Linked DNA regions of Homo sapiens: all the other regions are linked to region 1. The links are contacts of gene promoters, found by promoter capture Hi-C in blood cells and fetal thymus (Javierre and others, 2016). All regions are on one chromosome and are shown on one strand. The core of a region is centred on a gene start or on the middle of the fragment in contact, and the rest is flanking DNA. Distances in the headings are between cores, read along the strand shown.

Evidence for each region. Contacts are between HindIII fragments. The CHiCAGO score rates a contact against its expected background, and 5 or more counts as called.
Region 2: a contact is called between the fragment with the promoter of TTC36 here and the fragment with the promoter of SCN4B in region 1, in 8 of 17 cell types (neutrophils, naive CD8 T cells, M1 macrophages and 5 more). The highest score is 7.2, in neutrophils.
Region 3: a contact is called between a fragment that was not itself captured here and the fragment with the promoter of SCN4B in region 1, in 1 of 17 cell types (naive B cells). The highest score is 5.1, in naive B cells.
Region 4: a contact is called between a fragment that was not itself captured here and the fragment with the promoter of SCN4B in region 1, in 5 of 17 cell types (neutrophils, total CD4 T cells, activated CD4 T cells and 2 more). The highest score is 8.3, in neutrophils.

Annotation. Positions count from the first base shown.
Region 1 is chr11:118,150,938-118,154,769 of GRCh38, reverse strand. It overlaps SCN4B (sodium voltage-gated channel beta subunit 4), which reads left to right and starts at 1,947. Exons shown (of 5, transcript NM_174934.4): 1 at 1,947-2,157. The coding sequence starts at 2,097. RefSeq lists an enhancer at 829-1,329. The HindIII fragment of the contact is 14,636 bases long and covers 1-3,832 here.
Region 2 is chr11:118,524,892-118,528,723 of GRCh38, reverse strand. TTC36 (tetratricopeptide repeat domain 36) reads right to left here and starts at 1,250. Exons shown (of 3, transcript NM_001080441.4): 1 at 1,112-1,250; 2 at 1-121. The coding sequence starts at 1,229. KMT2A (lysine methyltransferase 2A) reads right to left here. Exons shown (of 36, transcript NM_001197104.2): 36 at 1,892-3,832. All of the region lies in intron 1 of TTC36-AS1 (TTC36 and KMT2A antisense RNA 1), which reads left to right. The HindIII fragment of the contact is 1,033 bases long and covers 851-1,883 here.
Region 3 is chr11:117,798,351-117,802,182 of GRCh38, reverse strand. It overlaps a transcript of DSCAML1 not described here. Among named protein-coding and RNA genes, the nearest start is that of DSCAML1, 3.1 kb to the right of the region's middle. The HindIII fragment of the contact is 1,254 bases long and covers 1,301-2,554 here.
Region 4 is chr11:118,493,003-118,496,834 of GRCh38, reverse strand. KMT2A (lysine methyltransferase 2A) reads right to left here. Exons shown (of 36, transcript NM_001197104.2): 16 at 3,605-3,778; 17 at 2,437-2,547; 18 at 2,068-2,141; 19 at 942-1,135; 20 at 468-574. Among named protein-coding and RNA genes, the nearest start is that of TTC36, 33 kb to the left of the region's middle. The HindIII fragment of the contact is 3,432 bases long and covers 130-3,561 here.

The sequences.
Region 1 (3,832 bases), core at 698-3,197:
TGCCTTTAATTACTTTTCCTTCATGATAACCTGGAAAACCATGTCCAAAATGAAATTTTCAGGCCATTCTCTGGTACACACTCTTCTCTGGTCCTGTAGTGAGAGGGGCTCTTGTGCATGCCTAGGGTGTGTGTCAAGTTACATGCACTCCCCATCACCTGCATACAGCTGTCCCTTGCCCACTGCTCTAGCCCTTGAGTGCACACCTGATATGGCCAGCCCTTGAAAGGACAGATCTGGGGAATAGGGAATTCCAGAGTTCCTGATACCTGGAGTACAGTCTAGAAGGGGAGGAGGTGCATGCCCCCACCTGCCCTGCCCCCTTGGTCCCATGGACTCATTCTCCAGTGAGGGGCATGGCCAGAGGAGGGCCAGAATGAGGGCCTTTAAAACCAGAAATCAGGGCTGAGGCTTCTGTTGCCCAGGTCCAGGGGTAACATCGCTCTTAATAAGCCTAGGAGGCAAATATCATTGCATTCACCATTTTATAGGTGAGGAGCAGAGGCTCCCCCAGAAGACCATGTAACTTGCTCAAAGCCATACAGTCATAAATGGTGGCGCTGCCAGAGCCTCTGTGCCACTATAGGGAAGGCAGCGACCCTCTCTCCTGAAAAAGCAAACAGACATTCAGCACTTTGCCTGCAACCTCAAGGGGTCCGTGATCACGCCGAAGTCCACCCAGAGACCCCTCGTTAAGAAGGCGGTGCGTTGGTGTGCCTGCAGCAGAAGTCAGACCATGAAGTGGGAGCGGGCTTCCCAGTCCGGACCAGTCCTAGACAGTAAAGAGGGCCTGTGATGCAGGGAGGGTCTTGGATGGTTGGAAAGGTGCTGAGGAGGAGATCGACTCATTTACAGAACCACCAGCCCAAGTAGCACCGCTCAGGTGAAACTCTTTCACTTGGGCCTGTCTGGGAAAAGGCTTACTCGTTCACAGCCTCGCCTCAGCCCTCTGACCTGGTTGTCACCCTGGACTCCTCCACCCCTACCCCAAAAGGGAGGCCGAGGGAGTCTGCCGTTCCGAAGAAAACAGGAGAGTTGGAGGAGGGCGAAAAGGCAGCATCTGAGGGGGACGGCCTAGGTAGGAAAAATGAGAAGCAGGGGTGCAGCGGGAGGGTGAAATGGGGCGCAGGACACAGACCAGGCGCGGACCAACCTGCTCCCTAACCTGGAGCGTGGTGATTTCCAAGGGGTCCATGGAGAAATGTGGGGCGGGGTGGCGTGGGGGTGGGGGAAGGGAGGGCCGGGGCAGTTTGCAATGGGAAAGCTCTGTTCCGGGCTTCCTAAAACAACCGCCGGAGTTGCTGAGCGATGGGGCAGAAGGTGGCGGGAGCGGGTCCCGAGGCTGCACGCGCGCCATGTCGCACGCCACCGAGGAGGCGCAAGCTGCAGTGGGCAAGCCCGCACACGCCCACCCGTTGCGGCAGCGTCCGCTGCGGACTTTAAAGCGGTCCCTTGGCGGTCCTGGGAGAGGGAGCCGCTAACCTTCCCGTGTTCCCCCAAGCAAAGCAAAACAGTCTTCCAGCAACCGAAAAGCTCCACCTCTACTCCCCCCGAACTATGCTCCTAATTGGCAGCTCAGCGCATGGGATGATGCGGGTGGCTGCAGGCCGGCCCTGCAGTGCCAGCCGCAGCAGCCCAGCCCCACTGGAGAGGGAGTTGGGGGCACGGCGTGGTCCCGGGGCTCCGGGACCGCGAGGCGGGGTGCGGCAGGCAGGGTGCGCAGCGGGCGGGGGCTCCCCGGCCTACGCGGCGGCCACCGCCCCTCCTGCGGCTGGAGCGCTTCCAGAGCAGAGGCGCAGCCTCGCTCGCCGCTGCGCTCGCTCCGTCTTCCTCCCGCTCCTGCTCCGGCTCCTCCTACTCCTTCCCTCCCGCCGTTGCTCCAGCAGCCGGCTCCCAGCAGCGGGCGAGCGCGCCTCCCCCTCCGCTCCCTCCCTCCCCCTCCTCTCGCTCTCTGCCCGCTAACTTTCCCGAGCCCCGACCGGCGGCGCAGAGCTCCGGGGTAGCTTTGTGGCCGAACGCCGACCTCGGGCGGAGAGCGCGGCTGTGCCCAGTATCCCATCCCCGCGACCCCCGCGCGCTCCGGAGAGAACAGGACTATGCCCGGGGCTGGGGACGGAGGCAAAGCCCCGGCGAGATGGCTGGGCACTGGGCTTTTGGGTAAGGCAGCCCCAGCTTGGTCTCTTCTCTTGCCTCCCCCCACCCCCAAAGAAGGGGACACTCGAGAAGGAAGATGCCTTGGATGGGGTGGGCTTTGGAGTGCGGCACGGAATGAGGATGGTGGCCGCCGGCTTCCTGCCTGGTTCCTGCCTGGTTCATAGGCTGTGCTCCCTGGGGACCGTGTGCGTCCCTCTCTACCCCATCAGCCCGCCAGTCTCAGGATTAGTTTTTTTGCTGTCCTTGGCACCTTCGGCTCCAGGTATTTGGAGCTGGATCTTGGGGCTGCAGCGCGGGTCTCCAGAGTTCAGAGGTTCAGGATGCTGGAGGAGGGGGGTCCGTGCCTTGAGTGCAGGGGATACCAGGTGGGTTGCACGTGTGACTGTTGGAATGGTGGTTTCCATCCCGGCCCAGAGCCGTTTGCTTGTTTCCCAGGCACCAGGCATGCACCAGTTGGGGGTGGGGGAGTCCCCTTCTTCCTGGGCCCTTTTCCTGCTTTGCTCCTCTGCCCTGTACCTCCCTCAGGAGCCACTGCCTTCCCTACAGCAGCACCTGAAAGCTGGAAGGGGCTGGAGGGGCTTGCGGGATCATTCAAGGCCCTTTAGGAACGGCCTTGTCTCTCTTCCTACAAAGAGATTCCGTAGGGAAGACCTGTTTGACCTGCTCCTGGCTCTTCATTTTTGAAGTGAATATGGAGACAGAGAAGACATGTCCAGAGGACACGGAGGAAGAAGCATTATTAATATCTATTAATATGCACATGAGAGTTTTGAGTGTCAAACTCCAAGAGATTAGGGAATGATATTTATTCATCCAGGATGTAATCTCCTCATAAATCATAGCCAGACTTTAATGTAAGCCGACTCCATCTCTGGCAACGGCATCTCTTCCTGTTTATATTGGTCAGATTTGGCTTTTGGCAGCTCCCTGCATTGGGTAAGACACACGGTGTAGGTATTTCTGCTGAAAACAGGGAGACAGAACCCTATAAGGGAAGTGGCTACTGTTTCTGCGAATGTAAACTGTGTGCAGATCTAGCAGGTTGGTGCCTGGTGGTGAAGAGGGGAGAGAGTATTTCTTGTACTTGGGATGTTTATTTACCTCTGTACCGCTAGATGGAAGACACCCTTGTTTTCTCCTGTACCTTGGCACAGATGTCATGCTGGTTTCACAGTGACCTTAATGAAGTGGGCCTTAGTGACGCCTGAGGCTCCTTTTCACAGGGTGGGCACAGCGCCATTCCATGCTACTTCCCCTCATCCCATCTCAGATCAGCCCAGGTCCCCATGGTGGCAATGGCAGGGGTAAAGGATCACTGAGGAATTCAAACTCAGCCAGTCATTAAACTACCCCACTTCACACCTCTGGCTTACCTTCCTGGGTGGTGGGATGCCAGTCCCTTGTTTGTTAGAATACTCATAGAACCAGGCCTCTGTGGGCAACCAAGAGGGCCCTGAAAATGATGTGTGTGTGTGTGTGTGTGTGTGTGTGTGCACGTGTGTAAGGGGGATTGTAGGCACAGTCTTGGTACATTGCTCCAGGTGGAAGCCCCACCTTCTCCAAGGACTGTTCAGCTGTATAGACCAGGTAGGGGCTAAGGCCTATTGATATAGGTTTAGATGAATTTCTGAGCTACCCTTTGGGAGCCCAGGAGAAAGCAGAGTGACTTGTAGGTGGG
Region 2 (3,832 bases), core at 1-2,500, 370 kb before region 1:
AGGCAGATGGCTTGGCCAAACCTCTCCAGGGCTGTGCTGAGGTCCCCAGCCTCTGCTGCCATCACCCCCTGCAGCTCCAGGGCCTTGGACTGTTCCAGCTGTGCTTGAGGGAAAACTTCATCTGGGCCAGGGAAGGAGCCAGGAGAAGCCAGGTGTGCAGTTGGTAGCAAGAAGAAAAAGCCACCTCAGGCTTTGGAATTCTGAGATCTGAGCCAGAGCTGACTGGGTATGGGTCACAGCAGGGGTCAGTTGCAGTGTTTGGGGTAGGGGGAGATGAGGTCACTAAGGCTGGGAGCTAGCATTGCCTGAGTTCCAAGAGACCTGGGAAGGGGCCTTGGTTGGTTCCCCATTGCCAAGAGAATGAAGCCCAGACTCCTCAATCTGTTAAAGAAGTTGCTCAAGTTCTTTGTGTATGGCCTCAACAGGCCATACGTTGCAGAGCTTGGATTTGAACCCAGGTCATTCTGGCTCCTGTCTGCATTTTACTCTACTACACCGCCTCTTATGCAAAGGCCACCATGACATTCCCAGATCATGAACATCACTTCTGACGTATCCCTCTGTGTTTCGGCCTGAGTTAGTAAGGTGTAGGCTTTACTCCTCTAGAAACAAAGGATCAAAAACTCCTTCATTAGGGATTAATGGAAAAGCCAGTGAACGCACTCACTGCGGAAGAGTTAGTTTGGAGCTTGGCTTGTGACAGTGTTTAACGGTTACTGGTTGTGCTTGCTATATTGGAACCACTCAACTGAGCAACCATGCCCTGCCTTATTTCAGTCTTCTGTTCTGGTGGTGGTATTCTCTGTTATGACAAAAATGTGAGAGTTTAACATCACCTGGCAGTTAAGCTTGGATCATACAGTCAATTAAGTGGTAAGTTCAGAGGCATGAGAGCTGATGGATCGAGAGACAAACCCCAGCTTACTCCTCTTGGCAGGACATCTCTTACCAAACCCCCATCAGTGCGCTAAGGAGCAGCCAACCTCTCTGATTCCAATCTCAATCATAATCATGGAACAAGGGGCCTTATAAAACCACCTCCCTCTCTGCTACCTCGGGAGGCCAGCAGGCCAGCCTATGTGCAGAGCTACACTCCAGATCAAATGCCCACCTTCTTCTCGTTCTTCCTTTTCTGCTTCCTCTCCGAGGTCCAATCCAACAATGTCTCCAAATGGGGTGTCAGGGTTGAAGATGGCCTGCAGCACTGCCTGATCATTTGGAGTCCCCATGGTGCTCAACTCCAAAATCCCAAAAGGTGACTCCAGATGAGAGAAGAGGGAGGGACGTGGTGAGGGTGGAGCCTCCAGCAGGAAGTTGATCTGAAAGGATGAGGACCACCCCTTCGTGAGGAGTGTCTCCCTGTCCATGGCTGTAGCATTTGCTCAACCTGTGGCCTGGAGGGTTGACCCTGGCTTGGCAGACTACTTGGTTATTTCTCAACTGCCCCTGCCCCCAGGAGAAACAGTAAACAAATCCAGCTTCAGCCTTAAGGTGGAGTGCAGCTAGAGAAGGTGTTCTCCAGCTTCTCCCTGAAATGCTTTCAGTTTATTATATTCACAGTTGAGAAAACCGATAAAAATCAATACTTAACCTCCTTGGATGAAACAGGGGAGCTATGTAGAAGGTAAAGGCCCTGTTCCTTTGTCCTCTTGACCCTGCCTCATATCCACAATTAATTAGGTCCTGAACATACATCACTGATGAATAAAGGAAGAAAATAGTCAAGAGAGCCAGTGTGGAGTGGACCTGAAGGTGGGCTACAGGGAATAATTTAGTGATGCCACCTTAAAGTAAAGGACTGTGGAAGGTACTTTGTGACCAGGTCACAGGCCATGCCCCTCCCGCTTTTCTCCACCCTCTCCAACCAAAGCCAAAAGGAAGCTTAACCATGTGCAGCAATAAACTTGACATGTTTATTAATTAAACTATCACTTAAATAAAAAAAAGTGCATAGAAAATAAACATGTTTAAAAACTCCTTTTTTTTACAACTATGTACACTTTTTACTTTTACATTCAGTCTTTCGTAGAGAGCTTTCAGCATTATTATTTTTTGAACTATTAAAGTATTTTCCTTCATCCCTGTCACAGGGAGTTAACACTGATGGACTTTAGACACATTTTCCTTTTTTTTTTTTCTCTTTTTCTCTAACCAGAAGCTTGGAAGAACACAAGGAAAAAAAACAGATCTGTTATACATGATAAAGTTGTCAAAAAATGTCTTATTTCTAGAAAAGAAGCTTGTCATCTGTTGAGCTCTTGAAACAATTATTCAACTACCTGTATTTACTAAAGAGACTGTTAAAAGTTCAATAAAAGAAACACCACAATTCTATTTTCTTGGTTGAAAGACAGAACTAGAGTACCTCGGAACAAGATACCAGGAAAGCACAGAACACAATTTTCCCCTAAATGCAGGTGGTAACCCCAACATTCATAACCAAAAATAGAGAAACAAGGAGGACAGGTACTGACTGGCAACATTCATGGGCAGAAAAAAATCCAGGTGACACCATGTCTGCATTTTTCTCTGATCCGAGGAATGGACTGTTCTACCATTCCTTTATGGTTAGAGGTTCCCCCCATTTCGGGAATCAGAGGAAAGTGAGCCTGACATCTTCCTGCCGCTACTAGCAACTGTAACACAATCCTTATCTATAGTGTTAAGAGAATTAAAAGCCATGGACTGAACTAGGCTTTGTTACATGGTGCATTACTATATTAGTTCCTATATATATCATATTTATATTTATTTGAAAACCAAAACAAACAAAAAGTTGCAAGTTTCCAGAGTGTGTGACTTGACTAGTATTCATGATTCGGCACAAAACCATCTGCTCCATAACCTTGTATTGCTTTAAAATGAAGGAAATGAAACATAAAATTACACCCAGCCCTTTGCAATGACCCGCTTTTCCTTAAAAACAAAAACAACTTGATTTCTATTAAAAAAAAAAAATCCCAAACCGAACTTAGAAGTTAACATCTGACAAGGTTTTGACCTTTAGTATTTTCAGATATTTGATTGAACGTCAGTCCTTTAGAAAGATACATTCATTAGAATATTTTTTTTATTTTTGTGTGTGTGTTGTATTTTTTTTTCCTTTTTTTTTTATTTTTTATTTTTTTTAAATCAAGGGAGCTACATGGTGCTCACTGCATTGGCCGGGGGTTTGACGGAGGCGAGCAGGGTGGCGGGCTGGGTCCCGGCAAAGGAGTCTGGTTGAAAACGTATAGCTGCCAGGGCTTCCCCCTTAATTCTTGTTATTGGTGTAAAAACAGAGGGGCTGTGCGAGAGGTGGTGGGTGGCCAAGGAGGGAGCCAAGAGACCAAGTTCCGGCCAAAGGGTCAGCGCCATGCAGCTATTCTGGTTACACAGTTGTCACTGGCCACCAGGAAATGCAGCCACAACAGGTTCTAGCAGCAAAGCTATAAGTGAGCTGGCTCTCACTGAGAACTGACCAGGTTTGCAGCTGTTACTCCTCAGGGATTTGGGATGCCCCTTGGGGGATTCTTGGGAATGACCCATCACAATTCCTCAATCTGCACTTTTGTGCGGAGATTCCCTTGGTCACTTTTGAAATGAACTCAGATGTGTTTGGAGATAGCTGTGCCGTTTTTGCCTTCTTTCCCTCTTGTAGGGAAACCTTCGCTTATTCCCCCAAGTTGCTGGCAGGTGTGCTGAAAATTTGGCAATGGACTCAAGGCTGAGCTAGAAGAGGAATTTCTCATTTTTGTGGTTGACAATTAGGGGGTGGAAAGGCAAGGCAAACCATCTGCAGCTGGCAGGAGAAGGAAGCTGTGGGTTCCTCCCCTGTCCTCAGGGTTTAGGG
Region 3 (3,832 bases), core at 678-3,177, 350 kb after region 1:
GGTTTTCCAGTGTAGAAGACACTTTCATAAAATTTGATAAGCACATTTGTGAGTGACACATGGGCCAGAAGAAATGCCGGAAGACTTGGGAAGCCAGCAAGTTTAGCTCTGCTCATTGCACTTTCTTTTTTTTCCTATCTCTCTTAGTTTCCATACCTTCCACCCCACTGCTCCCCAGAGAGAAATGTGACAATGAGCTTCAGCTCTGTCGAATCCGGACTACATGGAACCTCTCTGGGTTGGCTTCTCAACCGATTTCAGAGTTGTGAGCTGAGAAAGAACAGCAGGAGAGAGGCCACAGTTATTCAGGGGACTCCTGCCTTGCTGGGGGCTTCCGCAGCCCCTGACCAACCATCCTGGTGTCACTGCTGAGACAGCAGCCTGAACAAGGGCAATGGGACCCCAGAGACTGCATCTGTACAGGCGGAGCCCCAGGGCTTTAGACCCTTTGCTCCAGTGATCTTAGAGCCATAATATTATCATCCAAAATGATGAGAGAGTAAGTGGCAAGCATACCTAGACATCTTCTGAGCCCAGCAGACAGAATTTTGGTTTAAGGAGAACCTGGGTAGTATAATGACACATAATATTTTTTTATATATAGGCATCACAGTCTATGAATTGTACTGATTCATCTCATCTCAAGAAGATGGTATTTTAGATGTATGTGTATATATTTGAAGCCAAAACTGTTTATTTTGTGTAATTTTTTGTGCCTATTAGTTTCTGAATATCTGTGCATAAAAGCTTCTGTTTCTCTGCCTGCACACATTTGTGGGTACACACTATACACCTATGTGGGGTAGGAGGGGGGAATGGGCATATTTGTTTGCATTTACCTTGTGTTTGGTCCTAGGAAGGGATCTTGGTGATCATTCCAGCCCAGCTCTTTCACCTCAATGGTGAAGAAACTGAGGTCCAGAAAGGCAAGGTGACTTGTCACAGGTAACACAGCTGGCTATGGAGACAGAGGTGACACAAGAACCTAGGATTTCTGATTTGTAGATGAGAACTCTTTCTATAATATTAAAATCAATTATAAATTTTGGGGAGGGAAGCAGGGAGATCCTTGTTTTTTCCTCCCCCAACTGATAAGTAAGTACTAAGAAGGTCAATCTTGAATTAGCTATATAATACCAAAAGTTAAGTTTTTCACACAGACCTGGTTCAGTATTGATTCCTTTTATGAAAACCCTGTTTATACTCAAGTTGTCAAAGAATTCCAGAGGGCATATGAAGCCATTGTTAAAATAATTTTATGCCTTTGTTTTTGAAGAAAAGTATCCAAAATATATAAGCTTATTGTTTGAGTTAAACAATAAAAACATCTGCTGTTTCTCAGGATGGCTCTAGTCTTAATATAACATGGCAAAATAATACCCCCTAAATATCCATGATTAACCTGAATTGGAGAGGGCTCAGCTCCCAGTGACTTCATATAGCTGCTTCAACTGGCATTGTTTAAAAAAAACAAAAACAAAAGCACAAAAGCCAAAATACAGACAGATCATCACCCAGCATTCTGATGCAAGAAAATATTAAAACTGATCACTGCTTTTAAATGGGTAGTGTGTCCCTACTAGAAAGGAATCCCACAAATTTGAGGCTTAAAAAAATGGAGCATATGCATAGGTGCCAATGCAGAATTTCTGGATTGGGTTCAAATCACATTGAAGCACAGGTGTGCCTGTCATTAGGTGTTTATGTTTACCTGTACACATGAATGTTTGCCTGGGCAACTGTGTTTGTTCTCACTCTGGCATGAATATATTTGTGTGTGGGTGTGAAGTTTTCCATATAATTTTGGGAACTGTCCCTTCTATCAAAATATAGCCCCTCTAAAATGTCAGCTGGGGAGGGGACTGTCAGGGTTTAAGGTGGGCGTGGGGTAGAACACGCCGCCTGACTCTCTTCCCCGGCGTTTCATTTTTCCCTTGGGATTTCCTGGCATGCTGGCTTGCCCACCCCAATACAACTCCTGTCGAAGAGGAGACTTCTAAATACATCTGAGCCAACCTGTCATTTTCAAAGACATTTCCCTAGATACTAAGGAAGAACAAAATCAATGGGAAACACAAAAAGCATGAGGCCTGACCTGCCTGTTTTTCAGGTCCTTCTTTTGTTAGCCATCTCTCCAGGCTCTTCCGCCTCAGTGTGCACCTTCCGTGTTTCTGCAGCCCCTTTCCTGGATTCCCAGCTCCTTGGCTCTGGCTTTGTCACAGCATGGAAGGCACAATATCGTCCCAGCATTCCCCCAGTGGAGCTGTTCCCTCCTCCCAGTTCCCACAGGTCAAGGTCCTTGTGAGCAAAGCTGTTCCCATTCATGGTAGTTACCTGTGCTCACTATGCGTCAGCCATGGGGCTTGTCTTATTTAATCCTCGCTACGACTTTCCAAGGCAGATGCTGGGGATGTCCCCATTCCACTGGTAAGGAAACTGCAGCTTGGCACACATACATTTCCCAGGCACACAGCTGGCAAGTGGCAGAGCTGGGCTGAGGACTCATCTCCTGCTGTTTCCAAAGCCAGGCTCTTAACCATGACATTAGAAAGCTTCCTTTTGCCAGAGGGGGTCCCCAGGTCTGCTCTCCCCAACTGACCACCCGTTTATTTCCACGTATATGTCTCCTCCCGGGACAGCCAGACTGCAGTCACCGGCACAATGAATGACCTCGCCCTTCGGGTAACACACATGTTGTGGTTCTTTAAAGCCCCCTGTGTATAACTAGCATAAAGCCTCCTACACTCAGGTTGTAGGAGGTACTTGGGGTGGATGCAAAGAAGAGGGTCCACCGCTACTTCCAGCGTGTGAGGCACGGAGCAGCTGTGCCGCTACCCCAGGCCCACTCAGATCCCCTCCCAGCAGACAGCAGCCCCTTTCATCCTGTCTGCCTTAGCGGTTTATTTTAGGCATGACCTGACCAGGTGCTCTGGGTCAATAGGCTTAGTTTTAAATAACTGGATTCCTCTCAATGACCGTTCCCTTTAGAAGGGAGGGGGCATGGTAGAAGAATAAGCCAGCAGGCTGAGGGCGGTGAGAGATGGGAGCTAAGACAGAAGACTGGAAACGTGAGGGCTCTGTCACTCCCTGCGTGACCTCGGGGAAGGCTCATGGCTTCCCCACTCTGGGCCTCAGTTTCCTTATCTGTAAAGCAAAAGATCGGTCTGGGTCATCTCAAACACCCCCTGCAGTCTGTCCCCCCGTCTCTGTTCTATGCCTGTGTTTCCAGATGACAAAACACCTCCTGCAAATTGTTTCAGGGTGGTGATTTTGCATGAAGAGCTGAGCCACCGAGGGATGCTGCAGCTTATAGAGCAAGCTCTGCTCTGGAGTCGGGAGGCCTGGGTTCTAGTCTTGCTTCTGATACAACCTTGGTGGCCTTGAACAAGTTAAGCCCCGATTTTCTCACCCGTTTAAAGGACGAACCTTGAAAACATTATGCTGAGTGAAGTAAGCCAAGCACAAAAGGATACATACTTTATGATCTCACTTATGAGGTACCTAGAATAAGCAACTTCATAGAGACAAAGTAGAATAGTGGTTGCCAGGAGCTGGGGGAGGGGAGGGGAAGGGGGAGTTATTATTTAATGGGTGCAGGATTCTGTTTGGGATGATGAAAAAGTTTTGGAAATGGTAAGTGATGATGGTTGCACATCGTGAATGTATTTAATGCCACAGAATAGTACACTTCAAATGGTTGAAATGGTAAATTTTATGTTATGTACATTTTAACATATTAAAAAACACACTTTTCAAAATTTAGTTAAAATTTCTAGGGATATTTTGGCAAAACCTGGGAGTGAGGAGTCCCAATTCTCCCATGTGAACTTAG
Region 4 (3,832 bases), core at 596-3,095, 340 kb before region 1:
ACTGAGGGTCAGAGAGGTTAAACTACTTGCCAAAGTCAATAAGTAGGCAGTTAAGCACAGAAATGTATTCAGGCAGGCGGCAGAACTCGGGCTCTTAACGATTCTGCTATCCTATATGAAACACAAGCTTTTTAATATGCAACTTAGATTTTATTAACTTTCACAAAATATTCTTGAGGAACTTCCATTAGAAATTACTAGACATCAAGGGTTTAATTTAAGGCAAATCAGTCACCTTTTAATCAACAAAATCAGTCATTAAAAAACTCCAAGTGCCATGAACTAAGTGACAAAAAATAAGTTACAAATTAATAAGTTATAAGTTATAGGTAAATAAAAGTTATAAATTAGTAAGTTATAAGTAAGTTCATTAAATAAATGGCACCCAGTCATCAAGTATGGACACAAGGACAAACAGTTCTTTTGGAGTATGTATTAACTAGGGCCCTGTGTTGCAAAGTACTTACATTAGCACTGTCATCACCATAAGTCAAACATAACGCACACTGTCTATTGTCTTCTATGCCTGGGGGTGGGTTCAGCTCTGGACTGTCTTCTCGACTCCTATCAGTACCTTGAAATCCAAAAGACTCCCATCAATACCTTGAGATCCAGTTAAAATTGGCAATACTATGTCTGATTTCAAGGAAAAAAGAAATAATTCAGCTTACATAGCCCACAGCCTATAAAATAACCACTTTTCAAAAAGTGTTCAGAGTTACGCTACCTCATCATCTATGTTACAATACTCCAGAGTATTTATATCAAGTCCTCATTAACACCTCAAGTGAAGCAAAATTAATGATGGTATTACATTTAAGGATGACCTGAAAATTCCTTTCTGATATCCAAGTATATCTAATTTTAGTGAATTGGATTCACGAAGTCAATCATCTGCATCTAGAGGGAAATGGGTGACGACTCTCCTTTTGGTGGCTTACTCAAAATTGGTGGTGTAGGAGGATGCAGAGGAGTTGGTGAGTCTGGTTCTCCAGGACCTTTGGGTTTGGGAGCTGGAATGATTTTCTTCATTAAAGGAGGCTGCTCAGTGTGGCTGTTTTCCTCTCGCTCCTGCCACTGAGCATAATTATGGTCAAGTGAAGGTGGAAGCACTGCGTTTGGTAACATCCCACTGCTGAAAATAATTGATTCAACAAGCATTTATTGAACTCCTACAGTATACCTAGAACTGTATAAAATAAATTCTTGATATCACCTGTTGCCCCATGTAGGAGCCATTCACAGAATATAAGAACAAGTCACAGCGTTTGAAAATTGCTGAAGTACACAGAACTCAATATTTTAAAAAATATCTCAACATATGACTCTTGGTTAAACTTGCTGAAACAAATGATAACCCTATCAAAAACTCAAAAGAGGCCGGGCATGGTGGCTCATGCCTGTAATCCCAGCACTTTTGGGAGGGTGAGGCAGGCGGATCACCAGGTCAAGAGATCAAGACCATCCTGGCCAAAATGGTGAAACCCAGTCTCTATTAAAATACAAAAATTAGCTGGGCATGGTGGTGCCCGCCTGTTTTCCCAGCTACTTGGGAGGCTGAGGGAGGAGAATCGCTTGAACCAGGGAGGCGGAGGTTGTAGTGAGCCGAGATCATGTCACTGCACTCCAGCCTGGTGACAGAACGAGACTCCGTCTCAAAAAAAAAAAAATAAATAAATAAATAAAATCAAATCAAAAGAATTTACTGGAATAAAAATTAAAGGTTACATATGGAAAATCAAGAGCAGTACAAAGCACCATTTGAACTATCAGTCAAACAGAACCCATTTATAACAAGGCCAGCTACATGGCTGTACCACACATGTATTGTACATTTGTCACAATTAAACCAAGCTCCCTACAATAAAACAAATATAAAAGTAAAGAACAAAAAGGCAATTGCTTATAACAAACATTAAATGTAGTCCTCAAAACCACACCGAAAAGGCATTTCAACCAATTCATTTCTAGTATTAAAACCTTTTGGAAAACTGCAATCTAGAAATATGAGAACTCTCAGATTTCTAGCCGATGAGGAGAAAAAAAAGTTATGCTAAATTCACTTACTTGCTTGATACTTTATTTGGCTCCCAAAACCTGGACTTTTTGACACTGAACCATGGAAAAACACGTTCCATTTGCTAAAAGAAAACACAAACAAAATGTAAATATGTAAACACTCATTTAGATACCACATGAAAAATCTTCAAACCAGCTTCTCTGTTAATACGAGGATAATTTCAGGCCACCAAGAGAAAGATCCATCCACTCTGGCAACCTCACCAAGTTCCTCTCAAAGAATCAGGGGATCAAATTAAACCAAAGATGTTTTATACACACCACAAAGCAAAAAGTAGAAGAGAACAAGTTCATTGTATTCACAGGGTAATTACTTATAGGTAAGCATTAAAAACATGAATTAGTAATATCATTCACCCGAATGAAGAAGGACTTGACCATGCTGTTGGCTTTTTTAATTTCTGGCTGTCCTCCATCTGAATTAATGGCTGCTTGAATGATCTTCACAATATCATCACTGAACTCCAACTGTATACAAAAACAAAATGTTAATTATTCTTAAAACAGTGTGCTCTGAAAACCATTTCCTCTTCCCTCCTTAATCATCCAGCACAGAGATCCAACAGAAAACTCACACCCTATTTTAATGTGGTATAATACTCTTTGGCTGAGACCTTTGAGATTCAATTCACGATTAACCTGTGGCAATTAAGAGATGCCAGGCTAATGAGGTAAGAATGCAAACAAATTGGCTGTATCATGATAAATTATCCAAGCAGGTCCACAGTTTTTATTTTGGATTAAAATAAATAAACAGTGGCTCACGCCTGTAATCCCAGCACTTTGGGAGGCTGATGTGGGTGGATCACTTAAGGTCAGGAGTTCATGACCAGCCTAGCCAACATGGTGAAACCCAATCTCCGCCAAAAATACAAAATTAGCCAGGCATGGTGGCACATGCTTATGTAATCCCAGCTACTTGGGAGGCTGAGGCAGGAGAATCACTTGATTACGGGAGGCAGAGGTTGCAGTGAGCCGAGATCATGTCACTGCATGCCAGCCTGGGTAACAGAGCGAGACTCCATCTCAAATAAATAAATAAATAAATAAAAATAAACAACAGAATCGCAAATATAGATCATGAGATAATAAATAATCATTTCCTATACATACTTAAAATCATAAAATTAACAGGCATCTATCTACAAATGAAGACCTTATAAAGAAAGGCACATTATTCAGATCTGATCTCAAAAGGGGAGGGAGAACCAATTAATTTCATATTAGCATTTCCCACATCAACAGTTTCTTAGTGCTTCCTCTTAATATAAAAATAATTTTCAGAAAACTGAGATGAAAGCCAAATAAAAGAACTATTTTAAGACATTATCTTCCCTATCACAACCCTTCTTCTGAAACACAAAGCTAAAATAACTCATACATTTTTAGGTATCTAAAGCCACGTGACATTTCTAAATATAATACAATTCATTTTTAAATTTACTTATACTCAGTTTCATGCCCCAAAGGTCCAAAGAAGCTTTATTGGCACTAGAAATTCTGATGGCTCACTGTAGAAACATACCACAGATGTGTAATTCCCTTGGTCCATCTTCCTCTTGACTCCTTCTAGATCTAAAGGCTGCTGATCATCCTGTTTGCTGACCTCAGTAAGAACTGGTGGATCAGGTCCTTCGGGGGAGCTGCGGGAAGGTATACTCTCCTCTGTCTCGGGATTTAAGTCTGGAGGCTTGGCAGCCTATTGCCAGGAAAGATATGTTGCTTTTATCTAACACTAAAACCAAGGTGTCCA